4 separate regions of the Homo sapiens genome follow, and all the other regions are linked to region 4. The links are contacts of gene promoters, found by promoter capture Hi-C in blood cells and fetal thymus (Javierre and others, 2016). All regions are on one chromosome and are shown on one strand. The core of a region is centred on a gene start or on the middle of the fragment in contact, and the rest is flanking DNA. Distances in the headings are between cores, read along the strand shown.

Region 1 (6,101 bases), core at 695-3,194, 340 kb after region 4:
GTAGATGGCAGGAGACTCATTACAGATCTCAGTGGAGTAGCAGCGGACTTGAAGAGTGGAGGCCTGAGCGTGGGAACCTTCAGTTACCCCAGCCTTTGGGACCCTGGGGGCCTTGGAACCTGGTCTGTTTCCTGCGAGTCCTGCGTTCTGCTTCTGCCCCGACTCCAATCTGAGGGGTCTGTGGGTATGGGCTGTGCAGTGAGCCTGGTGCGCCCCACCTTGCAAGTTGTGCGTGGGGCCAGTTAGCCTGCCTGTGCTTTGACCTGCTTTAAAAATGTTCTAATTAGTTGTCAACACTCAAAAATTAAAAATCCCGAGATTTAATCATCACTTTATATTTCTGTTCTTTCTGGAAAACTCAGACTGTCCCCCTACTGAGCTCAAGGTGCTCCGTAGGTGTACCCACAGGGGCCCTCCCCGCCATACTCAGCTTGCTTCATTCATTTCCTTTCCTGCCTTCTGGGAGCCAAAGTTCAGGTACAAAACTCCAGCTGTACGTTTGCAGTGATTTCCCCCAAACACTGTTCCCCTATAGGGGAGGCACCTCTCCTAGGCTCCGTCCTCAATGCTCATTGGCTGCTGCTGCTGTCGAGAAACAAGCCTGGGGTGAAGTCCCGTATTCCAGTTATCAGTAAGTCCATTCCTTTGCAAGGCTACAGTTCGAACAGGCACAAGGGTCCAGTTCGGGTCTGCTTTCGAGACTAGCAGTCTCCTTTGTTAAAGCAATTAAAAAAATCATTTTCTTTGTCAGCAACGTCATTCATCGTCCCGAGGTCTCTGCTTATTGCGGCGCTGTCTTCAGCTGCGAAGACTGACCCTGTGGCCTCTTGGCCCCAGTGAGGTCCGAGGCAAGGAAGCGTCTCTCTGAAACCTATTCTGGGCTCTTAGGAAGAAATGAGAGAAAGGAAAACCACTAGAAATGTCCAATAACACCATCTTTTGGTTGGAAAATAAAACACGCAGAAAGAGGGGACTGGAACTTTTACTGAAGTATTTCTAGAGAGAAGGTGCTTGGGAACACTTTAGGTAACTTACTCCCCTCCCCCAGCAGAAGGTAAAAAAAGCTACTTCCAGACGTGCCGGCTTCAGGCTCGGGAACTTCGTTTGGCGCCTGGCAAGCACCGTGCTCTTACCTACGGGCTTATACGACACTCCTGTCTCCAAGGCAGCTGGGTGCGGGGACAGTCAGCCCGGGGCGGCTGGGTTTATTGATTAAAAATGGAGGGAAGGGCCAGGGGTGGTCACGATTGGAGGGCGAGAAGAGCCGTGCGCGCAGGACCCCTCCCCACCGCCCGGGACCGGCTGAGCCAGAGGCGGACCCAGCTTCCCCGCGGCGGCTTGGAGGGGCCGGGCGCCGGTCCCCGTCCCCAGGGCGCGCTGCGACAGTCCCCTCCCCGTTCCCGCCCGCCTCCCAGGCCCATCCACTCCAGGGCCTGCGCGCCGCCCGGCGGCGCCCCGGCATCCCCGCGCGCTGTTCCCCGGGCCTCGGACGGGCCCTGCGCCGCCGCTGCCACCGCGCACGGCGCCCGCCCGGCGCTCCCGTCAGCGCCGCCGCAGCCATTTTGGAGCGAGCCGAGACAAAGAGCGAGGCCCCGTCGCCGCCCCGCGCCCGCCTCGGCCCGGCCCAGCGCACCGTTCCCGCATCCCGCGCCCCGCCCGGCGGCCCCCTCCCCGTCCGCCACCGCCCCGGCGCCCGCGCCCCTGAGCTCCAGCCCCCGCGCTTCCCGCCGCTGCTGCCGCACCCCGGCCGACCGCCCGCGCCCCGGCCTCTAGCGCTCGCAGCCATTGGCCGCGCCTTTTAAGCGCGCGCCGCAGCCAATCGCCGGGCGCCCGCGGTCTCCGCGCCTGCGCAGGGCCGCCACCCCCGCTCCCCCGCCCCCCGGCCGCGCGCCCCCGCCCCCCGCCGGCCGCGCGCCGCCCCCCGCCCGCCCAGCGCCCGCCCCAGTCGGAACCTCCTCCTCGCCCAGGCGCGCTCGGCCCGAGCGGCGGCGGCGGCGGCGGCCGAGGAAAAAAGATGGCGGCGGGCTCGGATCTGCTGGACGAGGTCTTCTTCAACAGCGAGGTGGACGAGAAAGTGGTGAGCGACCTGGTGGGCTCGCTGGAGTCGCAGCTGGCGGCCAGCGCGGCCCACCACCACCACCTCGCGCCGCGCACGCCCGAGGTGCGGGCCGCGGCCGCCGGCGCGCTCGGGAACCATGTTGTGAGCGGCAGCCCGGCCGGAGCCGCGGGCGCAGGGCCGGCCGCCCCCGCCGAGGGCGCGCCCGGAGCGGCGCCGGAGCCGCCCCCCGCAGGTAGAGCGCGGCCGGGGGGCGGGGGGCCGCAGCGCCCGGGCCCCCCCTCACCGCGCCGCCCCCTTGTCCCCGCAGGGCCCGCGCCGCCCGCCGCGAAGCTGAGGCCGCCGCCCGAGGGCAGCGCGGGGTCCTGCGCCCCGGTGCCCGCCGCCGCCGCCGTCGCCGCGGGGCCCGAGCCCGCCCCCGCCGGCCCCGCCAAGCCCGCCGGCCCCGCCGCGCTGGCCGCCCGCGCCGGCCCCGGCCCCGGGCCCGGCCCCGGCCCCGGCCCCGGCCCTGGCCCTGGCAAGCCCGCCGGCCCCGGCGCCGCGCAAACTTTGAATGGGAGCGCCGCGCTGCTGAACTCGCACCACGCCGCCGCACCTGCTGTCAGCCTGGTCAACAACGGGCCCGCCGCGCTGCTGCCGCTGCCCAAGCCCGCCGCCCCCGGCACTGTCATCCAGACGCCCCCCTTCGTGGGCGCCGCCGCGCCCCCCGCGCCCGCCGCGCCCTCGCCCCCCGCCGCCCCCGCGCCCGCCGCCCCCGCCGCCGCCCCGCCCCCGCCACCCCCCGCGCCCGCCACTCTGGCCCGGCCGCCCGGCCACCCCGCCGGACCCCCGACCGCCGCGCCCGCCGTGCCGCCCCCCGCCGCCGCCCAGAACGGGGGCAGCGCCGGGGCAGCCCCCGCCCCCGCCCCGGCCGCCGGGGGCCCCGCGGGGGTCAGCGGCCAACCCGGGCCCGGCGCGGCGGCTGCGGCGCCGGCGCCGGGGGTCAAGGCCGAGTCGCCCAAGAGGGTGGTGCAGGCGGCGCCCCCGGCGGCGCAGACCCTGGCGGCCAGCGGCCCGGCCAGCACGGCGGCCAGCATGGTCATCGGGCCAACTATGCAAGGGGCGCTGCCCAGCCCGGCCGCCGTCCCGCCGCCCGCCCCCGGGACCCCCACCGGGCTGCCCAAAGGCGCGGCCGGCGCAGTGACCCAGAGCCTGTCCCGGACGCCCACGGCCACCACCAGCGGGATTCGGGCCACCCTGACGCCCACCGTGCTGGCCCCCCGCTTGCCGCAGCCGCCTCAGAACCCGACCAACATCCAGAACTTCCAGCTGCCCCCAGGTGAGTGGCCGCACGGGGCGGGAGGGAAGGGCGGCTCCCAGCAGCGCCAGCTGCCAGTTCCAGGAAGTTCTCCGCTGGTGGAATGCTAAGGTCATCTGTCCCGTAGGCCCGTGGCTGGAGCAGGCCGAGGGGCAGTCTCTACCCAGGTGCGGGGCCAGCCCGGGTGGCTGTCTGCGAGTGAGCCAGAGGGAGTCGGCATAGCCTGCGTCCCTGTCGCTGTCCCTGACGTCCGCGCTGGCTGCCTGTGCCTGGGGCTGGTCTGTTTCGGAGTGGCTCAGCCAGGACTCTTAGTGGAGTGGTCCTTACCTGCTCCCGCCCTATGCGTCCCTGCCCGGGTTGGTAGGCTCAGCGCAGGGGCTCCCTGGGCCAGGCGATGGGGTCTGCAGAGCTGAGGGCAGTACCTGGGGCTGTGAGTGGCAGCAGCTGTCCCCTGCTCAGTTCTGCAGTTAGGCGTGTGGCCTGTGTCCCCACTTAGCCTTTCTGCCCCTTGGTGACCCTGGGCTCGAGCCTCTTCAGTCTCCAGGCGAGGACGGGGGCGCGACGCCCCCTCCTTGAGGCTCGGGAACTCTGGATGGAAGGCTTGGGCTCCTCTGCTGCCACCAGGCAGGGAGAGATGTCAGGCGCATCCTGCGAGAGTCCTCCCGGCGCGCAGCCTTGCTGAGAGCCACGCTGTGGAGTAGGGTTTCAGCACCGTGTGTGTCACTGTCTCTTCCAGAGCTGCGTTGGTGCCTAAAGGAAGGAGCGCCTAGCTACTCTGGTTGCTGCCCCCTCGGGAGGGCAGTGGGAGGGCGGTGGCAGCAGATGTTCTCGCTCCGTGCAGGGGTCTCGGGGCGATACTGGCTATGCTGCGGATGCCTGGGGCTCCGACGCCACTTCCGCCTGGCAGTTCTCACGCTCCTGTCTAGTCTGCTGTCTCTGCGACTCCTCAGGGCCCCTCAAGTTTGACAGGAAAGATTGCCTGGCCAGCATTGCTGCTTTTGTCTGGGGCTCCCCGTCCCTCCCCAGCCGCCGTGGTGGGTGCTGGGCAGGGGAGCTCCTCCCCGGCCTGTGGTGACGCGTGCCGTGCAGTTGTAGCAGCGCGGTGGCAGCAGTAGTAGGAACTGCAAGGAGAGCGTGGGTCCCTCCTGCGTCCCCTCTCTGAATGGAGCTATTGGTCACTTTGACAGGGTTGCAGAATCTTCAGAAGTGAAAGGATTTCTTGTCCAAGTATGTGAGGTTCGGGGCTGGTGGTCAGACTCTGGACAGGGCAGGGGTGGGGAAAGCCTGTCTGGGCGGCTGCTAGGCTGCAGTGCTCCAGGGAGGAAGAGAGCTGTGAAGCTACTTCCCGGGGTTGCTGAGACGCCCTTTACGACAAGCTTTTGGGGTACTGAAGCGTTTGTAGGGGTGTTTTGCCAGAGGCTTGGTTTTGCTGTTATGTGTATGTTGACCTTTTAGTAGGAAACGTGGCTGATCTTTAGTAACGTTGTAAAAAGATGTTTGATGGCTGTGATCTATTATGTAAACTGTCACAATGCTTTATTTATAAAAATGTTTTTCCAGAGGTCCCACGTGTCTCAGCGCAGGCCAGGTGCCTGTTGCACCCCTTTGGGTAGGTATTGGACTCTGTCTTGTGGGGCTGGCCAGGTCCTCTTGCTCTGAGCCACTGCAGAGGTAAAGCCTCATCTGTCTCTTTCTTCTGGGAGGAGGTGAAGGAATACGTGGTTGGAAGAGGGCATCTCTGCTGTGTTTATCATGAGTGATCCTGGGACTCACTTCCATCTTCTGTTTTAAGATCAGTTTTAGGGTCGGGTGTGTTTGATGAAGAGACAACTTGAAAAACAACTGTAGGAGTGTTGACTGTGCGTGATTCCTGTGTGTGAGGACAGAGGAACAGCTCACACAGACGTTTGGGTGGCAGTGCTGAGAGCGGTGCTTTCAAGGAGCCGAATGCTACTATCTAAAAAAGTGAGAGATTTACCCCATCTCTTCATGGCCTCCTGCAGTTGATCTACTGATGAGGAATTTTGATTATGTTATTTGTTTCAATAATAACCAAAGCAAAAAAAAAAAGTATCAATAAAACTACCAGTATCCCAAACCAGAGTACCTTCTTTTGAACAGTACAACTTAATTCTGTAAATCAGAATGGCAAATTGCAAATACTCTGGTTACTTCCTGTAATCGATTGATCAGAGAATATTAAATTGTTCTAGTTGGTTCCGTTTTCATTGAAATATTTCGTAATAAAAATGTTTAGAACAAAGATGGAAGTAACTTATAAAAATAACTCTTGCTTGGTTAATAACTCATTCTCATTACAACTCAGTCTTGCAAACTGAGGAGGAGCCGGGAGTATTAGGGGTGGGCAGGGTTCTCAAAGCTGCATGTGGGTGTCAAGTGGAGTAGCAGACGGGTGGCAATTGGATGGGGTGTGAAAGGGCCTGCCCTTCCCAGCCTTCCCTCCGTGGAGGTCTTGGGTGGGAGAAGGGAGGGGACAGAGGTTTCACCCTGAAGTCTTTAAGGCTAAGCCTTAGGCCCGAGTGTTTCAGCCCCATAGTGCACACCGGGTATGTTGAATTTGGTTTAGGTAGCTGTCATGATATTCTTTGTCAGGACAGTGTTGTAAAGACAGTTATGTTAATGTAATTGTAATTTGCTGGTTTGAGGTGCCAGAGTTTAGATTTTATTCACTGAGGAAAAATGAGAAAACTCAGTCTTTAGTGAGATTGTTGCAGATGACACAGTTGT
Region 2 (6,478 bases), core at 1,478-3,977, 450 kb before region 4:
CGTGGGTGAGGTGTTGCCAACCAGGAAAGCTCGCTAGAGACCAGGGGCGTGTCACGTAGGCACTGCCCCCATGCATGCAACCACAGTCCAGTCTCCCAGAAGGAAAGCAGTTGTTCAGTGTCAGCCATATCGTTTGCACAGTGTAGGTTCTGGGGGCACTCTTAACTCCCTGAATCTAGGTTTGCAGACTCCACTAAGGGCCAGCCCTGACTGCAGGCCTTTCTGAGGAGAGTGGTCAGGCTGTTTTGGTAACTGCTGCTTACCAGCCAGCTTGAGTTCAGCAAGTTTTGCCTGGTTCTTTTTTTTTTTTTTTTTTTTTGAGACGGAGTCTTGCTCTGTCGCCCAGGCTGGAGTGCAGTGGCGCGATCTCTGCTCACTGGAAGCTCCGCCTCCCGGGTTCATGCCGTTCTCCTGCCTCAGCCTCCTGAGTAGCTGGGACTACAGGCGCCTGCCACCACACCTGGCTAATTTTTTTGTATTTTTTAGTAGAGACGGGGTTTCAGCATGTTAGCCAGGATGGTCTTGATCTCCTGACCTCGTGATCTGCCCGCCTCGGCCTCCCAAAGTGCTGGGATTACAGGTGTGAGCCACCGCTCCTGGCTATTGCCTGGTTCTTTTAAGATTGCTGGGAAGGAAGAGGTTAAAATTGTTATTTAAGTGGTTTTGTCTGTAGATTTTATTTGTGGTATCCTTCTTTGTAGAATTAAGAGTGGTTAATTTTTTTCTATTATAATTGGGTTTTCTTTTCTTTTTCTTTTTTTTTTTTTTTTTTGAGACGGAGTCTTGCTTTGTCACCCAGGCTGGAATAGTGCAGTGGCATGATCTCGGCTCACTGCAACCTCCGCCTCCCAGGTTCAAGCGAGTCTTCTGCCTCAGCCTCCCCAGTAGCTGGGATTACAGGTACCCGCCACTACGCCCAGCTAATTCTTGTACCTTTTAGTAGAGATGAGGTTTCACCATATTGGCCAGGTTGGTCTCGAACTCCTGACCTTGTGATCCGCCTGCCTCGGCCTCCTAAAGTGCTGGGATTACAGGCATGAGCCACCACACCCGGCCTATAATTGGGTTTTCATAGAATATTTCCCTAATCTATAATTAATTAACTACATAATGTATCGAGTACTGGTACTGTGTACCAGTTTCTGCTTTAAGTTCAGGAAATAAATAACAGTGAGTGAGACAAATACTCAGGTTTGAAGCTCCAAGGTTGAATGTTGAGCTAAGGCAATTTATTTATTTATTTATTTTTTTATTTGGTGAGATGGAGATTTACTCTTGTTGCCCAGGCTGGAGTGCAATGGCACGATCTCGGTTCAACGCAACCTTCGCCTCCCAGGTTCAAGCGATTCTCCTGCCTCAGCCTCCTGAGTAGCTGGGATTACAGGCATGCGTCACCACGCCCAGCTAATTTTGTATTTTTAGTACAGGAGGGGTTTCTCCATGTTGGTCAGGCTGGTCTCGAACTCCTCACCTCAGGTGATCCACGTGCCTCGGCCTCCCAAAGTACTGGGATTACAGGCTTGAGCCACTGCGCCTGGCATGGCAATTTCTTTTAAAGGGATCTATTCAAACTTGCTGGGGCAGGGTGCAGTGGCTCATGACTGTGGGCCGAGGTGGGAGGATTGCTTGAGCCCAGGAGTTTGAAACCAGCCTGGGCAACATAGCAAGTCCCCGTCTCTAAAGAAAAACCAACAATACTAGTAGTGGTGGTGTTGCACACCTGTCGCCCCAGCTACTTGGGAGGCTGAGGTGTGGGAGGATCACTTGAGCCTGGGAGGTCAGCGCTGTAGTCAGCTGTGATCATGCCACTGCACTCCAGCCTGGGCCACAAAGTGAGACCCATCCCCCAAAGAAAGAAAATTAAAAAGCTAGCTAATATCTTTTTATGATACTTTTATACACATGGACTAACTGAGGGCCTTCCTCACCCTACTGTGAATTATGAAGGGCATTTTGCTCCGACATTTATTTAATAGACATTTATTGAGTACCTGCTATGTGGAAAGCCTTACACCGTACGTTGACAGTTTGAAAGTTGGACTTCTAGCTCTACTGCGTAGACTTGTGGTTAGAGTTCAGTGAGCTGATGTGTAAAGAGTGTTTCGCTCAATGTCTAGAAGTCCAAAAGCACCTAGTAAATGCCAGCTGCTGTTTTACTGGCAAAGTCTCTAATTAAAGTTCTAAATAGACGGGTGTGAAGGTGAGTAACAAGGGCCATATTGAATAAGTTGCTCAGTATCTGCTTGTTTAGGACTTTGCATGTTACTGAATGTAATATGTAAAAGTTTAAAAAATAGTCTAATAACAAGACTCCAATTGTTTATCTCTACAAAGACCAAGTTTCAGAATATTAACAGAGTGTTGGGCCGTGATCCTTTCTGAATCAGGGCCCCTTGGAGAAAGCTGTGCACGAGTTCCTGGTAGGGTATTTAGCCCGTGAAGGGCAAGTAATATCAGTCTTGAATGACAGAGTTATCTGCCCAATTTGGACCCCTCAGTGGTCCAAATGGAAGAAGGTGTCAGACACAAAATGTTGCTTCCAGTTTCAGGGGCTTTGGAGCCATCCCTAATCTAGAGACTTGAACCTGGCCCGTGAGAAGTAAAGAGGGAAAGCTCCAGGGAGCTTGTGGGTCATGGGGCCGCCAAGGGCACCCGAGGATGCTCTGGCCTCTGGAAGGCAGTGGCTGCCTCTGTAGACAAGGCCGTGGCAAAGCCGTGGGGCTTCCTGTGGTGACAGGCGCTTCCGTGGCACTCAGTGGCCAGGATGCACGAGCTCTGGTTCCCTCAAGTACTACAGGAGACGCTTCCTTTTACATGTTTGTTTTGCTCCGGTCTCTCTCGGTGATGACTTTGGGTTTTGACTATAGGCGCAGAATCCGCATTTGCTGTGATGAGTTGAATCTCTTAGTGCCGTTCTGCAATGCCGAGACTGACAAGGCCACAACTCTGCAGTGGACCACAGCATTCCTGAAATACATCCAGGAAAGACATGGAGATTCTCTTAAAAAGGTTAGTGGTAGGCCAGGTAGATTTTCAGAATTTTACAAATTTTACTTAACAATGTCCCTCCTTTTTCCTAAGGATAACTCAAACTATCCTTTGTTTCCTGGAATCTAACATCAAATACTAAGTCCAGTATGAGCAAAGCTCTGCTCTTTAATGATATAACTTGTCATTTATTAAAGTAATAGTCACAGCCTACATGTGTTACACTCAGTGTGTAAATAACTGTGAAGAGGCAATTGTCAGATAGCAAATTGGGCACCTGCTGTGTACGGTATATTGCACTGGGGCTGACGGGTGTGTAGGACATGATATTTGCCCTCAGAAAAACTTGTGAAAGGGATAAAAGCAAGAATAGAAAAACAAAAACCGGCCAGCCACAGTGGTTCACGTCTGTAATCCCAGCACTTTGGGAGGCTGAAGTGGGAGGATCTCTTGAGCCCAGGAGTTTGAGACCAGCCTGGGCAACATGGCAAGACCCCATCTCTACTAAAAAATACAAAAATTAACCTGGTGTGGTGGCGTATGCCTGTAGTCCCAGCTGCTCGGGGCGGGGGCTGGGAGGGAGGATCAATTGAGCCAGGGAGGTCGAGGCTGCAGTGAGCTGAGATCATACCACTGCACTCCAGCCTGGGCAACAGGGCAAGACCCTGCCCCACCCCCACCCACCCCAAAAAAGAAAGAGAAACAAAAATGCAGATAAGTGTCAAATAGTCTGATCTGGACTTCAAATATGCCCAGCAGGTTAATAAGAAATATACTTCTGTGGACTGGGTGCATATACTTCTGTGGACTGGGTGCATATACTTCTGTGGACTGGGTGACTATACTTCTGTGGACTGGGTGACTATACTTTTGTGGACTGGGTGACTATACTGTGGACCGGGTGACTGTACTTCTGTGGACCGGGTGACTATGCTTCTGTGGACCGGTGACTGTGCTTCTGCGGACCGGGTGACTGTACTTCTGTGGACCGGGTGACTATGCTTCTGTGGACCGGGTGACTATACTTCTGCGGACTGGGTGAATGTACTTCAGCCGACCGGGTGACCATGCTTCTGCGGACTAGGTGACTATACTTCTGCGGACTGGGTGAATATACTTCTGCTGACTGGGTGAATGTACTTCTGCAGACTGGGTGACTATACTTCCATGGACTGGGTGAACATACTTTTGTGGACTGGTTGACTATACCTTTGTGGACTCGGTGAATATACTTCTGCGGACCGGGTGACCGTGCTTCTGTGGAATGGGTGAATATACTTCTGCGGACCAGGTGACTATGCTTCTGTCAACCAGGTGAATATACTTCTGTGGACCGGGTGACTGTACTTCTGTGGACCGGGTGAATATACTTCTGTGGACCGGGTGAATATACTTCTGTGGACTGGGTGACTAGGGAGGAGCCGGCGTGTTAGCGCCAGCATATGCAGTCCCTCAGGACAGCCAGCCTGCCGTGATCCTGTCTGTGTGGTCGTGGCAGTGGCCTGCAGCAAGCCATCGTGGTTGGCTGGAACTAGACGTGTGATTTGAATGCAGGAGTTCAGTCAGCCCCTCAGTGGCCTAAAAGGAAGAAGGTGTCAGTCACAGGGCTGGTTCTGGGCCCTGCCTTGGGGGGACCCCAGTTCCAGGGTTCTGGGCCCTGCCTTCAGGGGACCCGAGTTCCAGGGTCCTGGGCCCTGCCTTTGGGGGACCCGAGTTCCAGGTCCCGGCCTCAGCGTTGCAGTGGCCAGGGTCAGTGGCTCTTTGGCCCTCTAGGAGTGAGCAGACCTTAGTGAAATAGATCCACAGGGTCCTGACTTTGTACCTGGTCCAAGCTGTTGGGGAATTGCTGCTGTTGACCCAGGCAGGAGTCTGACTAGAGAACAAACTAAGGTTGCTGCAACAAACAAGGACCTCTTCCAAGAAGGGCTCCCAGGCCTGGCGCAGTGACTCATGCCTGTGATCCCAGCACTTGGGAGGCCGAGGCGGGTGGATCATTTGAGGCCAGGAGTTCGAGACCAGCTTGGCCAACATGATGAGACCCCCGTCTCTATTAAAAATACAAAAATTAGCCAGGCGTGGTGGCGCCTGTAGTCCCAGCTACTCAGGAGGTTGAAGCAGGAGAATTGTTGAACCCGGGAGGCGGAGGTTGCAATGAGCCAAGATAGCACCACTGCACTGCAGCCTGGGTGACAGAGCGAGACTCCATCTCAAAAGAAGGGCTCCTGTGTCTACGTCATGGTGGGGCTAGAGAGAGGTCCCCGCAGCTGGGCTGTGTTGAGTGAGGGCTCGTCTCTTCAGCGCCAGGCAATAGTTTGTCTTGTCTCTGTCCCTTTTCTGTGTCCACATGACATTTACATCTTGCGAGTTGCATAATTTAAGTTGTTTATTTACATTATACATTTAATTGCATTCTATAGCGATGCTATGTTGAATGTATTCTGATCGGATCGTTTATGGTTATTTACAATGCAGTTACTCTTGAAGATTATTGTTAGAGGTAGACTGTTGATTTGTTTTGATAAAATAAAGCTTTTGTGTTTTAAAAAATGCTTTAATGTTTTGGCTTTGTGTATCTATTAGTAAATCATTATTGATCTGATTTACTCAAGACGAAGGCATTTATAATTTTTGAAATTAAAAAATGTTAATTGTATGTATAGTCAAAGATTAAGTAGACCAAATGTTTATGGATATGATACTTTACATACATTATGTTTGCTGAATATTTCTTAAATGTAATTACATTGAATCTGATTACTTCTGGGTCACATTATTAGACCCACCAAGAAACAGGCTGAGGTCAAGTCAGTTCACAATTTTTTCGGGGAATTAGAACATAAAAAGCCGAAACACATGGGTTCTTAATTGTTTCTTTAGTGACTGCCCCCTTTTACTTGGATGCATATTTTTGTCCTTGAAGACGTAATACATGAGAGTTTTAAGTGATTTCTCTACATTATTTTGGTACACATTTCACTCAGCAGGTCTTTTCCAGTGTGACCAGGCACTGCTGAAGGTGCTGGGGTACCCTGCGCAAGATAGAGGCATGTCTGGCATGGAGGGAGGCAGGGGACGAGTAAACGTGAAGACAGTGGGAGCAGGGCCTTGCGGGTGGAAGGTGCTGCTGCGAGCCAGCCGGACTCGGGGGCTGCTTTGGATTGGGTGATGTTGGGTGGTCGAGGGAGGCGCCCAACCAAGGCCCAATGATGACAGGGAGCTGGCAGCCAGGACCTGCCGGCTGCAGAGTCTGAGGAGTGCCTGCCTGCCAGCCAGTGTTGCTGGGCAGGGCACCGGGGCAGGCTGGGGCCTGGTGGACCGCTAGTCCTGAGGGTTGGGGGCCTCGGCAGTCTTTGGGCAGTGAGTGACATGACCCATATCACCCTGCTGCTGGGGGACACTGGATGCTAGGGAGTAGGAGCTGGGCTGGGGTGAGAGTGGAAACCAGGAGTCTGCAGTAGCTGGAAGATGTGGCTTGCCGGGCGATGGCTGC
Region 3 (6,621 bases), core at 2,043-4,542, 460 kb before region 4:
GTGACTGATGAAGAAAATGGGGGTGGGGGGTGGGTCACTCCCAGCCGTTCCCTCCAACGCATCAAATCCAGAATCTCGTATCTGAGTCCCTGTCCACTTACGCAAGCTTATATTCCTCCCACCCAGATCCCGCACTCTCAACATCGATTTCCACACATTTTCCGCAGGTTTTCGTAGGGAAACATATTTGTAGGCCACACCTCACACTTTCTCTTTTGGGGCCTGCTGGAACTCCAGTCTGGATCTAGGTCTAGAAGGAACACAGAGGTGGTGGTGAGTCCCGGGCAGGACGGCGGCACCTTACAGGGCAGCTCCCTAGGGAAGGCACTTGAGGGTCTTTGGGCAAAGGGGTCTCAGCTCCCCAGGCAGTGGCAGAAGAGCCACATGTGCCTTCAAAGACGACCTGCGGAGTTCACCGGCAGATCCCAATGGACTTGCAGGGCTCGTGGTCCTCAGCTTCACTGGGATCTTCCCACATGCCCCTGTAGGGACCAGCCCCACAGGGTCGGTGGGCTTCTCCCTGTGTGTGGTGACGAGAGAGTGTAAAAATAAAGACACAAGACAAAGAGATAAAAGAAAAGACAGCTGGGCCCGGGGAACCACTACCACCAATGCGCAGAGACCGGTAGTGGCTCCGAATGTCTGGCTGCATTGTTATTTATTGGATACAAAGCAAAAGGGGCAGGGTAAGGAGTGTGAGTCATCTCCAGTGATAGGTAAGGTCACGTGGGTCACGTGTCCACTGGACAGGGGGCCCTCCCCTGCCTGGCAGCCAAGGCAGAGACAGAGAGGGAGAGACAGAGACCGCTTACGCCATTATTTCTGCTTATCAGAGACTTTCAGTACTTTCACTAATTTGCTGCTGCTATCTAGAAGGCAGAGCCAGGTGCACAGGATGGAACATGAAGGCGGACTAGGAGCGTGACCACTGAAGCACAGCATCACAGGGAGACGGTTAGGCCTCCGGATAACTGCGGGCGGGCCTGACTGATGTCAGGCCCTCCGCAAGAGGTGGAGGAGTAGAGTCTTCTCTAAACTCCCCCGGGGAAAGGGAGACTCCCTTTCCCCGTCTGCTAAGTAGCGGGTGTTTTTCCGTGACACTGAGGCTACCGCTAGACCACGGTCCGTCTGGCAACGGGCGTCTTCCCAGACGCTGGCGTCACCGCTAGACCAAGGAGCCCTCTGGTGGCCCTGTCCGGGCGTAACAGAAGGTTCACACTCTTGTCTTCTGGTCACTTCTCACCATGTCCCCTCAGCTCCTGTCTCTGTATGGCCTGGTTTTTCCTAGATTATGATTATAGAGCAAGCATTATAAAGAGTAATTGCTACAAACTAATGATGAAAGATATTCATATATAATCATGTCTATGATCTGTATCTGGTATAACTCTTGTTGTTTTATATATTTTATTACACTGGAACAGCTCGTGCCCTCGGTCTCTTGCCTCGGCACCTGGGTGGCTTGCCGCCCACATGCCCCCATTGCAACGTCAGGTTCCCATTCTTTCCCAACTTCCCTAACTTTAACAAAAGAGGCACTGCAAAGTCGAAACTGCAGTTTAGGCTGTAATTAAATCATCCAGGAGACTAGGCTTCAGGTTTGCTTTGCAGAAATCTCAGCCCCATGGCTACAGGAGATAAGGACTTACTTTAAGGCAGTCATAGAGGCTTTCAGGTTCCTTTTTCAGACTCCAAGCCAGGCATTTAAAGCATCGAGAGCTGGAGCTGCTGTGTCCATCACCAGCAGGTCCTCGTCCTGCTAATTCCTGTCTACAGCTTCACCAGCACATGGGCCAGTGAGATGTCCCTGCCTCCCTCTTTCTTCCTCAGTTCTTTCTCTTCCCCCTTGTTCAATTTGCCTGGAAGCATGAAAGAAGAAAGCACAGGGCCCCCCAAGCCCCTCTGCTTCTGCCCATCACAAGTGCCACGAACCCATGGTCCCCGCCATCTCCTCTCTCTTCTCCCGCCTCTTCAGCAAGAAGCAGATGCACATTTGGACGGTTCGATTGGATGCTGCCTATACATTGTGTATAAACTGAAGTTAGGGGAGGTACTCACCACAGTTCCTGCCATTGGTTTTAACATGGAAAGAGTAGAATATAAGAACACTTGTTTTGGGCCAGGCACGGTAGCTCATGCCTATAATCCCAGCACTTTGGGAGGCCGAGGCAGGCAGATCACAAGGTCAGGAGTTCAAGACCAGCCTGGCCAATATGGTGGAACCCTGTCTCTACTAAATATACAAAAATTAGCCAGGCATAGTGGTGGGCTCCTGTAATCCCAGCTACTCGGGAGGCCGAGGCAGGAGAATTGCTTGAACCCGGGAGGTGGAAGTTGTAGTGAGCTGAGATTGCGCCATTGCACTCCAGCCTGGATGACAGAGCGAGACTCTGACTCAAAAAGAGAACACTTGTTTCATGGTGTGGGATGTTCATGGTCAAGATGTAATTAGGCTTCTCTGGAAGCATTACTTCCAGAATACCCAGGGTTTTCTTTTGCTGGTAGATAGCAACGATCATGAAAGAATTCGGGAAGTGGCGGACGCGCTGCAGAAAAGGCTTCTGGCCGGTGAGTGTGGAGACGCAGCGCCACTGCTCTCTGCAAACAAACAGGGTTTGCCCAGCGCTCGGGCCATCAGTGTGACGACAGATGAGCCAGCCAGCTCTTCAGTCTCTTCCTAACAGGACATGGTATGTTCAAGCCACTTGTGCAACACGGAGCTGGTGTAGATGAGGGACTTGACTGGCTGTCAAATGAGTTTTCAAAACGTTAAATGAAACTAGACATCTAACCAAAGACATGTTTGATAAAATTGGTCTAGACTTGCTACAGCAAAATTTGTTTGTATCTTGGTTAAGAAACAGCATCTGGGACTGGCTTGGGCAGAATAATAAACTTATTTTGTTGCCAATTATTGTTTGCCAAATATAATGTTGTTATTTAGCAATGTGCTTGGTTTTAAAGAAATTCTTCTTGGGAAAAAGGTGTCCTCATTTACTTCCCATGAGCCTAAAGCCTGGACATAGTTATTGTAAAACCTTTAAATAAATCCACCTTGGAAGTTAAGATACATAAAAATAAATAAGGTGGGGCGTGGTGGCTCACGCCTGTGGGAGCACTGTCTGTGAGGAGGTGAATCCCTTGAGCTTGTTGGAGACAAGGCTGGGCAACATGGTGAACCTTGCCTCTATTTAAAAAAAAAAAAAAAAAAAGGCCGTGCACGGTGGCTCATGCCTGTAATCCCAGCATTTTGGGAGGCCGAGGCGGGGGGATCATGAGGTCAGGAGATCGAGACCATCCTGGCTCACATGGTGAAACCCCAAACCCCGTCTCTACTAAAAAAATTAGCTGGGCATGGTGGCACGTGCCTGTAATCCCAGCTACTCGGGAGGCTGAGGCAGAAGAATCGCTTGAACCCAGGAGGCGGACGTTGCAGTGAACCAACATCGTGCCACCGTACTCCAGCCTGGGTGACAGAGACTCCATCTAAAAAGAAAAAAAAAGAAAAAAAAAATTCGGCTGGGCACGGTGATTCACACCTGTAATCCCAGCACTTTGGGAGGCCGAGGCAGGCAGATCACTTGAGGTCAGGAGCTCGAGACCAGCCTGGCCAACATGGTGAAACCCTGTCTCTACCAGAAAAATACAAAAAATAGCCAGGCATCGTGGCATGTGCCTGTAATCCCAGCTGCTTGGGTGGCTGAGGTAGGAGAATCGTTTGAACCCAGGAGGCAGAGGTGGCAGTGAGCCGAGATCGCACCACTGCACTCCAGCCTGGGTGACAGAGCAAGACTCCGCCTCAAAAACAAACAAATAAATAAATAAATAAATAAATAAAATAAAGCACTGACTCACCATTTTCTTTTCCCAGATTATCCAGAGCACTTGGGCAAAAGCCTCCACCCCATTTTTACTAGAATGTTCAATGGCAGCCTTGGTTCCAGAGGCACTTGGTTGAATTTTGCCCATTGATGCTCATTTGCATGAATTATCAGCGCCTCTTTCCCGTGAGAAACGGTTACCAATGCTTTTAAATCAAAGGCAATCAAAGATCCAGCTCCAGAAAACCCAGAACCAGCTTTGATCACTCCACATCACGGAACAGAAAAATCAATTGGCCCAGGAGTCCAAGAAGCTACAGGAGGATGAGAGGAAGGGGAGCAGTTGCCGGCAGGCCTGGTGACCCTGCCCTGCTCAACCTTCCAAGAATTTGAGAGAGAAAGAAAGAAAAAAAACCCTGCTTGCTGCGGTCTGAGTTTGTATCCCTCCAAGATTCATACTGAAACCTAATCTGCACTGTGGTGGCATTAAGAAGAGGGGTCTTTAAAACAATGGCCGGGTGCGGTGGCTCACGCCTGTAATCCCAGCACTTTGGGAGGCCGAGGCGGGCGGGTCACCTGAGGTCAGGAGTTCAAGACCAGCCTGACCAACATGGTGAAACCCTGTCTCTACTGAAAATACAAAACTATTAGCCAGGCGTGGTGGCACGTGCCTGTAATCCCAGCTACTCAGGAGGCTGAGGCAGAAGAATTGCTTGAACCCGGGAGGCAGACGTTGCAGTGAACCGAGATCATGCCATTGCACCCCAGCCTGGGCAATAAATCGAGACTCCATCTCAAAAAAATAAATAAATAAAAAATAAGAAGAGGGGCCTTTAGGAGGTGACTAGGTCATGACGGGAGAGCCATCATGAATGGGATTAGTGCCCTTTTACAAGAGGCCTGGGGGAGCTGATTTTCTCTCTCTGCCACATGAGGATGTGGCAGGAAGGCAGCATCTGAGCGGAACAGGCCCTCATCAGCCATCACATATGCTGGTGCCTTGATCTGGGACTTTCCAGCTTCCAGAACTAGGAGCAATACATTTTTGTTGTTTATAAGTGACCCAGTCTAAGGTGTCTTGTTATGACAGCACAAATGGACTAAGACACTGCTGGGTTTTTATTGGAACTGCATACATCAGTTTTGGGAATAACAGACATCTTAACACTATCGAACCTTCCAATCCATGAACATAGTATATCTCTATATTTGTCCATCTTTTTAATTTATTTCAACAGTATTTTGTAGTTTTCAGTGTACAGTCTTTTACATCTTTCATCAAATTTATTTCTAAGTTTTGTTTTTTTTTTTTTTTTTTTTTTGAGACAGTGTCTCACTTTGTCACTGAGACTGAAGTGCAGTGGCACGATCTCGGCTCACTGCAACCTCTGCCTCCCGGATTCAAGCAATTCTCCTGCCTCAGCCTCCTGAGTAGCTGGGATTACAGGTGCCCGCCACCACGCCCAGCTAATTTTTGTATTTTTTTGTAGAGACAGGATTTCGCCACGTTGGCCAGGCTGGTCTCGAACTCCTGGCATCCAATGATCCGTCCATCTCAGCCTCCCAAAGCGCTGGGATTACAGGGCTAACATTATTTAAAAATAATTTTGGGCTGGGTGGGGTGGCTCATGCCTGTAATCCTAGCACTTTGGGAGGCCGAGGCAGGTGGATCACAAGGTCAGGAGTTCAAGACCACCCTGGCCAATATGGTGAAACCTGTCTCTACTAAAAATACAAAAATTAGCCAGGTGTGGTGACGGGTGCCTGTATTCCCAGCTACTTGGGAGGCTGAGGCAGGAGAATTGCTTGAACCCGGGAGGCAGAGGTTGCAGTGAGCCGAGATCGTGCCACTGCACTTCAGTCTCAGTGACAAAGTGAGACTCTGTCTCAAAAAAAAAAAAAAAAAAAAAGAATTTTGGGCTGGGCATGGTGGCTCACAACTGTAATCCCAACACTTTGGGAGGCTGAGGTGGAAGGATTGCTTGAGCTCAGGAATTCGAGACCAGCCTGGGCAACATAGCAAGGCTCTTGTCTCTACAAAAAAATTTTTTTAAATTGCCAGGTATTCTGGCATGCCTGTGGTCCCAGCTACTGAGGAGGCCGAGGTGGGAAGATCGCTTGAGCCCATGAGATTGAGGCAGCAGTGAGCCATGGTCACACCACTGCACTCTAGTCTGGGTGACAGAGCAAGACCCTGTCTCTTGAAACTTTTTTTTAAAGTAATAAATAAAAATAAAAATAACTTTTGCATCTTTGCTCCTGTCAGATATTGCTCTGTAGTTCTGTTTTGTCTGGTTTTGATATCAGAGTTATGTTTGTTTCATAGAATGCTTTAGAAAGTATCCCCTCCTGTTCAGTTTCTTGGAAGAGTTCGTATTACCAATAGAACTGGTATTATTTCTTCCTTAAATGTTTAGTAGGATTAGCTCGTGAAGACATCTGTTAGAGGCATTTTCTTTATGAGAAGGTCCTTAATTACCAGTTCAATTTTATCAACAGATATAGAGAAAATAAAGTTATCTATTTATTCTTGAGTGAGCTTTTGTAATTTATGTATTTTGAGGAATTTGCCCATTTTGTCTAAGTTGTTGATTTTATTGCCATAAAGTTGTTCATAATAGCCCCTTAATATACGTTCAATATCTACAGAAGCTTTTTTTCTTCATTTTATTTTTGAGACAGGGTCTCACTGTCACCCAGGCTGGAGTGCAGTGGCATGATCACAGCTCACTGCAGCCTCTGCCTCCCAGGCTCAAGTGATCCTCCCACCTCCAGCCTCCCAAGTAGCTGGAATCACAGA
Region 4 (6,573 bases), core at 864-3,363:
GCGAAACTCATGAGCAGGGCCCTCTGCAGCCAAAGCACCAAGGTGAGCTGGGCATTTAAAACCACGCATCACAGGGATGGCAGGACACGGGCCAACGACTGGGCTGGGTGAGGCCTGGGCCAGACTGGGGTGCGGGCCTGACTCAGGGGGCACTGCCTCCCACCTGCAGCCTGTGACATGTCTGCCTGTTGTCCTGAGAGGCCAGAGGGACTGAACTCCCAAGAGGGAAGTCCAGGTGTGTTAAAGGTTGCTTTAATTTCTCCAGAATCACACGAAACAAAAGCCGTGTGTTCCCTACACACTGCCCGCAGGCCAGGTTGGCTTTTGGCCACCCATCGACACCCTGGGGAGGGGAGAAGACTGGCAGCGGGAGCCTAGCAAGGGGGTTCACCAGACCCAGGAAGAGACCCCGTTCCTTCCTCAGCATTCCTCCTTGTCCCTCAAAGTCTAGCTTAGCGCCAGCAAAGAAGAACTGGCTAGGGGCCCCCCTACTGCACAGCCGATCCCCAGGACCCGGCGCTGCAGCCAGCACGGACAGCTGCCTCCTGCCTCCTGCGTCCTGCCCTCCACCCTCACTCGCCCCTTTCTGTTCTCATCTGACACCAGATTCTCTGCAAGCTGCTGGTGTATGGCCCACCCTCCCCTGTCAGGCCCCTCCTCCTGGTGATAGCCAGCAGGGATGGAGGGCCCACTGTGTGCCTGCCCCAGCCTCAGCACCCTACAGCGCTGGACACACTCACTCCCCGCTCACGGGAGCCCCCAGGCACACAAGTCAGCACCCCATTCTGTGGATCCAGAATCCGCAGCCACCCCTCTGCTATGCCACCCAGCCCCGCGTTCTCCTAGACAGGACAGCTGCCCACCTTCCCCTAGGCCTGGCAGAGGCCTTGGAGGCCAACTTGGAAGGGCGGAGGGAAAGGAAATGGAGGTGCTGCATGCTGCGTGAGCCCCAATGGTGGCCCGTGAAGGCCCACAGGAGGGAGCAGGCAGGCGGGAGGTGGGTAGGGGCCTGAAGGGCAGGGGCCCATGCTAGGGGTGGTGATGAAGACCCTGTCTTGCCCACTCGCCCACTGCCTTGTTGGCCATCATGCTGCCTCCCCACACACCAGGTGCTCCTAGGGCCAGCGCTGTGCCTGTCGGTCCCACCGGGTCCCCAGCACCCAGCACAGGAGAGGCTGGGCGCATGCGGGCAGGTGCGAGGTACTGCAGCGCATTCGCGGACTGACCACTGCATGTGCCTGGCCTCCGGCCACAGCCCGACCCCCTCACTGAGCCAGTTTCATCCTGACAGTACCCTGAGGCTGAAATCATTGTCCCCTCTTTAAAGATACGTAAACCCATGAAAGAAAGCTGGACAGAGCAGGCAGGTGACACAGAGGTGGGTGCAAGGTCCTGAGTCCCTCCACAAAGATACAGCGGGTTCCCCTCCAGACTGCAGACAGGCTCCCGGGCTCCAGAGGCAGGCCCTGACCATCCCGGTGCCACGGGCTCACAGGTTCTGAAGTCAGGGGCACCCAGGCACAGAGAGGAAACAGGCCTGGGCACAAGGCAGGCTCAAGGTCACTTTGCTACTGCAGGAAGTGCAGGACTCTGCCTGGGGCTTTGATCCCAAGCAGGTGCCTTCTCCACTCAGACCCTCGTTCCCTTCTGTCAATGAAGGAGGCCAGATGGCACGCGGGCCCTTCCGGGAAGCGGTGGGGCTCCTCCAGGGGCCGCCCTGCGCCCGCTGAAGCGCCGCCCAGACACACCTCCGGACAGGGAAGTGTGCTGGGGCCTCACCCACGCCGCCCTGGGTCCGGAGCCTTAAAATGTGCGCTCGATGGAGGCCATCCGCGAAGGCCGCCATACAGCAAAGGGAACAGAAAGCGAGAGCCCCGCGGCCGCAGGTCCCAAGACGGGGACTCGAACCGGCGGGGAGGCGCGCAGCTCCCGACTCCCTGCTGCTGCGTCCGACCGCCTCTAGGACCCAGGGGAGCGCCCTGAGCGCGGCACCTCGCTGGCCAATGGGAGAGCGCGACGGCGATACATTTGCATGTGGGCGCGCCGCGGCCAATGGGCGGCGGGCGCGCGGGCGCGCGGGCAGGGGGTGGGGCGCTTCGCGGCGGCGGGCGCAGTCTGAGGATGGCCGCGGCCGCGGCCGGTGGAGCCCCGGGCCCGGCCCCCGGCCCCGCCGGGCCCCCGCCACCCGCCGCGCCGACCTCGGCCGCTCGGGCCCCGCCGCAGGCGCTGCGGAGGCGCGGGGACTCGCGGCGCCGCCAGGCCGCGCTTTTCTTCCTCAACAACATCTCCCTGGACGGGCGGCCCCCGAGCCTGGGCCCGGGCGGAGAGAAGCCCCCGCCGCCGCCCGCCGAGGCCCGCGAACCGCCAGCGCCGCCGCCGCCGGAGCCCCCCACCGGGCTGCCCGCCAGGACCCCCGCGCCCCAGGGCCTGCTCAGCCCCACGCAGGTGCCCACCGGCCTCGGCCTGGATGGGCAGCGCCAGAGGTGAGTGGGGGCCCGGCCAGGTCAGCCCAGGACGCGGGGTACAGGGACGGGGACGGGGGCCGGATCAGCCCAGGACTAGGGGTCAGGATTACTTGGGGCCTCATCAGCCCAGGACAAGGGGGTCAGGTGACCTGGGGCCTTGTCAGCCCTGGACAGAGGCCAGGACAAAGGGGTTGGGTTCACCTGGGGCCTTGTCAGCCCTGGACAGAGGTTCAGGTGACCTGAGCCCCTGTCAACCCAGGACACAGGGGTCAGGGTCAGTCTGGGCCCTCATCAGCCCAGGACACAGGGGTTGGGTTCACCTGGGACCTTGTCAGTCCTGGATACAGAACTGGGGGTTCCTGGGCTGGCTGAGGGTTTCCTCAGGCCCTGTCACCCCCCACACATAGGGTTCATTGTCCCCTGAATTCTCCCAGCCCCTGAATACGGGGTCTGGATCTCCACGTTGTCAGTGCTCTGAAATGGGTTTTAGGGTTCAGCCCTTATTACCCCTGAGACCCCCAGCCCTGTGGGTTCTGGACATGCCCCCACCCCCATCCACTGGTACCAGTGCCCGGGACACAGGGACACATGGACAGCCCTGTGCATCTCTTCGCATTCTTTGAACCGGGCCACACCGTCCATGCCCACCTCCTCAGACCCAGCATGTGGGCCGGGGTCCTCCTGGCACTGTCACTGACACCTGTTCCCAGAGGCCCCTGCACAGCCACATCTCCCATCCCACAGCCACTGGTCTCTGGCACCCCTCCTCTCCCTGTCACTTCCCTGCTGAGCCCCGCCCTTCCCCACATCACTCTCAGCTCGGTATCTTTGGGTCTGTCACACCCTGGGTCTCCACTGCTCCCCCTGCCTTGATTCCATTTCTGGGAACCACCTCAGCCCATCCCAGGGCAACCCCAACCATGAGCCCTGCCTGTCCAGCGTGTGCCCCCTGCCCAGATGGCCCCTGGCTGCCCGACACCCTGTGTCCTTCTCCCAGAGACCACAGGACCTGGGTGACCCTGCCTCCCACAGCCCTCACCTCCAGGAGTGACTGTGGGCTCTGGGCCCAGGACTGGCTGCTTGTTGCGGTTCCTTCTCAAAGGGAGCCACTGTCCACAGGTCCAAGTGCCTGCTGGGCGGCTGTTCCCAGAGGCAGCCCCTGCAGGTGTGCAGCAAAGGGGCCGACACAGAGCTCTTGGGTCAAGGCTGGCACGTGCTCCTTGCTTACCTGGAGGTCATCAGAGTTGCCCCACGCCCCTGGCCTTCGGGCAGGTGGAGGCATTGGGTTCCTCTAAGGTCTTTGGTTGGGGAAGTTTGGGCCCAGAACACAGCACTCTGTCCTCAAAGACTATGACGTCACATGCAGGTTGCGTCACACGCAGGTCGCGGTGCACTCCATCCTTGGAAGTGTTCCTGGCCGTAGCCAGGCTGAGGGTGCCTGCAGACCCAGGCCTGTCCACAAGATGTCCCCCCACGGACATGCCTGGCCGCTGCTCCAGGGAGGGTCAGAGGGATGATTGGGGCAGAGGGATGGATTTGCCCAAATGTGGCAGCCAGGCCCCATGCATTTGGCATGGCCAGCTCCTTCAGGAAGGCGGGAGAGATGGAACAAGGTGGTGACTCTCCAGGGCAGAGCGGCAAGGCCCTAAGGTGTGGACTCCAGGGGAAGCGGGCTCACCCCAACGGGCCGAGCTCCGCAGGTGTGGTGGGCTTTTCCCTAACCCCGGGCCCTGTTGTTTGACATGGAAACAGCTTTCTCCCTCAGTCCTGCATGTTGAGTGTCCAGAACCGGATGGTGACACCAGGCAGACTGGGTGCTGTCATAGGCCCTCCTTCCACAGAGTTCATGCACCCCTGTGTGCACCAGGCCTGGCGTGGAGTGGAGCCCACTTGAGTGGAGGGAGGCAGAGCGTGGCGACGCGCAGGGAAGTGCCTGTGACTGAGAAGGCACCCCCTGCAGGCCCAGAGCCTCCATGGTGACAGTTCTGAGCGCAGCATGCTGCCCACGTGCAGCACATCCCTGCCCTGTGGGATTGTTAGAAGGTGCGCTGTGGCCGGCATCCCTGGGACAGGATGGGACGTGGCATGGGCTGGGTGCCTGCAGTCCTCCTGCCGTACCCACCATGGGCCCAAGCGCCACCACCCCTTGCCTTGCCCAGGGCTGTCTCCTCCCTTCCCTCCTCCTTGGCCCCCATGTCCCTGTTCAGGTCTTTCCTGAACCCCACTCTGTTCCTGGAGGGGGAGGCGTCCCTCCTGGGGCTCTGCTGCCAAGTTCGTGGTGCTGACCTTGTTTCTGAGGGCCATGGCCCCTCCCTGATAGGTAGACCCCAGCGTGAGGACGTCCATTTCACCCTGCGTTCCCTGGGCCTGGCTGCTGATCGAGGGAAGGGTGGCTGCCCCGGCAAAAGGGGCTGCTAGCTCCTGGCTTGAGAGTTCTAGGATGAGTTGGTTTCAGGAAATGGAGAGAATTCTGAAAGTCCTGAAGGCAGCCCTGATGTTGGTCTTGTGAGTGTGGTGGTTTGACCTGGGCTCTGGGAACAGACTTGGCTTGGAATCCCAGCTGCACTGTTCAGTACCTCTGTGACCTTGAGCAGGTGACATGGCCTCTCTGAGCCTCAATCTCCTCTGAGAAGCGGGTTCACACTAAGCACTAAGCATGGCCTCCCTGAGGTCAGAGGTCAGATGCGTGCCCAGGGCTTGGTGAGGTATGTGGCAGGAGTCAGTGTGAGATGAGCAGAGCCTCTTTTTTTTTGAGACAGGGTCTCTCTCTGTCTCCCAGGCAGGAGTGCAGTGGCGCAATCACAGCTCACTGCAGCCTCTACCTCCTGGGCTCGAGTTATCCTGTCTCAGCCTCCCAGTAGCTGGAACTATAGGCACACACCACACCCTGCTAAGTTTTTATTTTAGCAGACATGGGGTCTCACTATATTGTCTAGGCTGGTCTTAAACTCTGGCTCACGTGATCCGTCTTGGCCTCCCAAGTGCTGGGATTTCAGGTGGCAGCCGCCACACCCAGTCAAATGGAGCCTCCTGTTACAACAAGGCTGCTCAGGGAACAGTAACTTCTCGGTCCTAATACTTATTCTTTCCCAGGGAGGCTCAGCCTGGTGTGGCACTTTGTGTTGAACCAGTGAGTGAATCATTAGAATCCTTGTTTTCCTCATAGAACTTCCAACCAGGTTTATTTTCACTTTTAACTTTGCCATTGCCTAATGCCCAAAAGCAAGTGGGAACTCTGGGCCTCCCCAGCTGGGTTTGAGCAGGTGCTGGGGTGTTCCGCCTGCAGCCTCCTCCCCGCCGCCCCCTCCTCCCAAACCCGGTGGCTTACGGCACCAGCGTGGCCTCTCCCAGCTCTGGAGGCCAGAAGCCCAACCTCAAGGTGTGGACAGACCCACGCTCCCTCTGCAGGCTCCAGGGAGGATCCTTCCTGCCTTTTCCCACTTCTGGTGGCTCCACGCACTCCCGGGCTTGTGGCTCCAGTTTCTGCCTCCGCCTCCGTGCCGCACTGTTCCTGCGTGTCTGTGTCTCCATGTGGTGATTTCCTCACAGGGACACCAGTCATTGGATTAGGACTTAACCTGTGACATCTTAACTTGATGACATCTGCTAAGACCCTCAGGGGGCGACACAGTTCAACTAAGACCCTCTTTCCATCCGAGGTCCCATTCACAGGTACTGGGGTTAGGACTTCACCCTGTCTTCTGGGGGCGATACCCTTCAACCTACAACAGCCCTTGGTGAGTGTCCACAACGCTAATGAGGTGAGAGTGGCATCCCCTCAAGCGAACAACTTTCCCCAAATTGCAGCCAGATGTGGCCCAGCAAAGAGCCAGGGTGCAGCCATCAGCAAGCAGAGCCCCCCAGTTCTGGAGGGTGTGTGCCGAGATGCTTCTGGGGAAAGGCCTGGGCCTGGGGCTGGGCTGCAGCTGTGGGACAAGCTGCTGTCTGGGCCAGGAGCCACTCAGCGTCGCCAAGCTGCTGTCCAAGTTAAACCAATTCAGCATCTGGCACCTTGTTTACAAGCGTGATTTGGGGGTTTCTTGCTCTCCAGCTGGCAAGCAGCTGGCAGTGGTCAGCTGAGGCCAGAGCCTGGGGGCACATCTCCCAT

What was found. The method cuts DNA at HindIII sites, captures the fragments that hold promoters and counts their contacts. A CHiCAGO score of 5 or more calls a contact.
Region 1: a contact is called between the fragment with the promoter of TAF4 here and the fragment with the promoter of CABLES2 in region 4, in 1 of 17 cell types (neutrophils). The highest score is 5.2, in neutrophils.
Region 2: a contact is called between a fragment that was not itself captured here and the fragment with the promoter of CABLES2 in region 4, in 1 of 17 cell types (neutrophils). The highest score is 6.1, in neutrophils.
Region 3: a fragment that was not itself captured here is called in contact with the fragment with the promoter of CABLES2 in region 4 in 1 of 17 cell types (neutrophils); the score reaches 6.3 in neutrophils.

Annotation. Positions count from the first base shown.
Region 1 is chr20:62,061,724-62,067,824 of GRCh38, reverse strand. It overlaps TAF4 (TATA-box binding protein associated factor 4), which reads left to right and starts at 1,944. Exons shown (of 15, transcript NM_003185.4): 1 at 1,944-3,374. The coding sequence starts at 2,015. It overlaps MIR3195 (microRNA 3195), which reads right to left and starts at 3,023; the gene lies at 2,940-3,023. LOC105372705 (a long non-coding RNA gene) reads right to left here and starts at 1,371. Exons shown (of 2, transcript XR_936960.3): 1 at 1,134-1,371; 2 at 1-883. RefSeq lists enhancers at 655-1,168, 2,197-2,711, 2,712-3,225, 3,226-3,740, 3,741-4,254 and silencers at 1,164-1,543, 1,804-1,913, 2,174-2,263. The HindIII fragment of the contact is 9,555 bases long and covers 1-4,731 here.
Region 2 is chr20:62,850,547-62,857,024 of GRCh38, reverse strand. It overlaps TCFL5 (transcription factor like 5), which reads left to right. Exons shown (of 6, transcript NM_006602.4): 5 at 2,868-3,009. Among named protein-coding and RNA genes, the nearest start is that of TCFL5, 8.0 kb to the left of the region's middle. The HindIII fragment of the contact is 5,585 bases long and covers 1-5,519 here.
Region 3 is chr20:62,868,402-62,875,022 of GRCh38, reverse strand. It overlaps LOC105372717 (a long non-coding RNA gene), which reads right to left. Exons shown (of 4, transcript XR_936989.4): 2 at 102-250. It also overlaps the pseudogene ARF4P2. Among named protein-coding and RNA genes, the nearest start is that of TCFL5, 9.9 kb to the right of the region's middle. The HindIII fragment of the contact is 6,367 bases long and covers 109-6,475 here.
Region 4 is chr20:62,402,825-62,409,397 of GRCh38, reverse strand. It overlaps CABLES2 (Cdk5 and Abl enzyme substrate 2), which reads left to right and starts at 2,113. Exons shown (of 10, transcript NM_031215.3): 1 at 2,113-2,483. The coding sequence starts at 2,122. It overlaps LOC105372709 (a long non-coding RNA gene), which reads left to right and starts at 2,504. Exons shown (of 2, transcript XR_936967.3): 1 at 2,504-4,508; 2 at 5,874-6,573. RefSeq lists a silencer at 1,947-2,196. The HindIII fragment of the contact is 20,791 bases long and covers 1-6,573 here.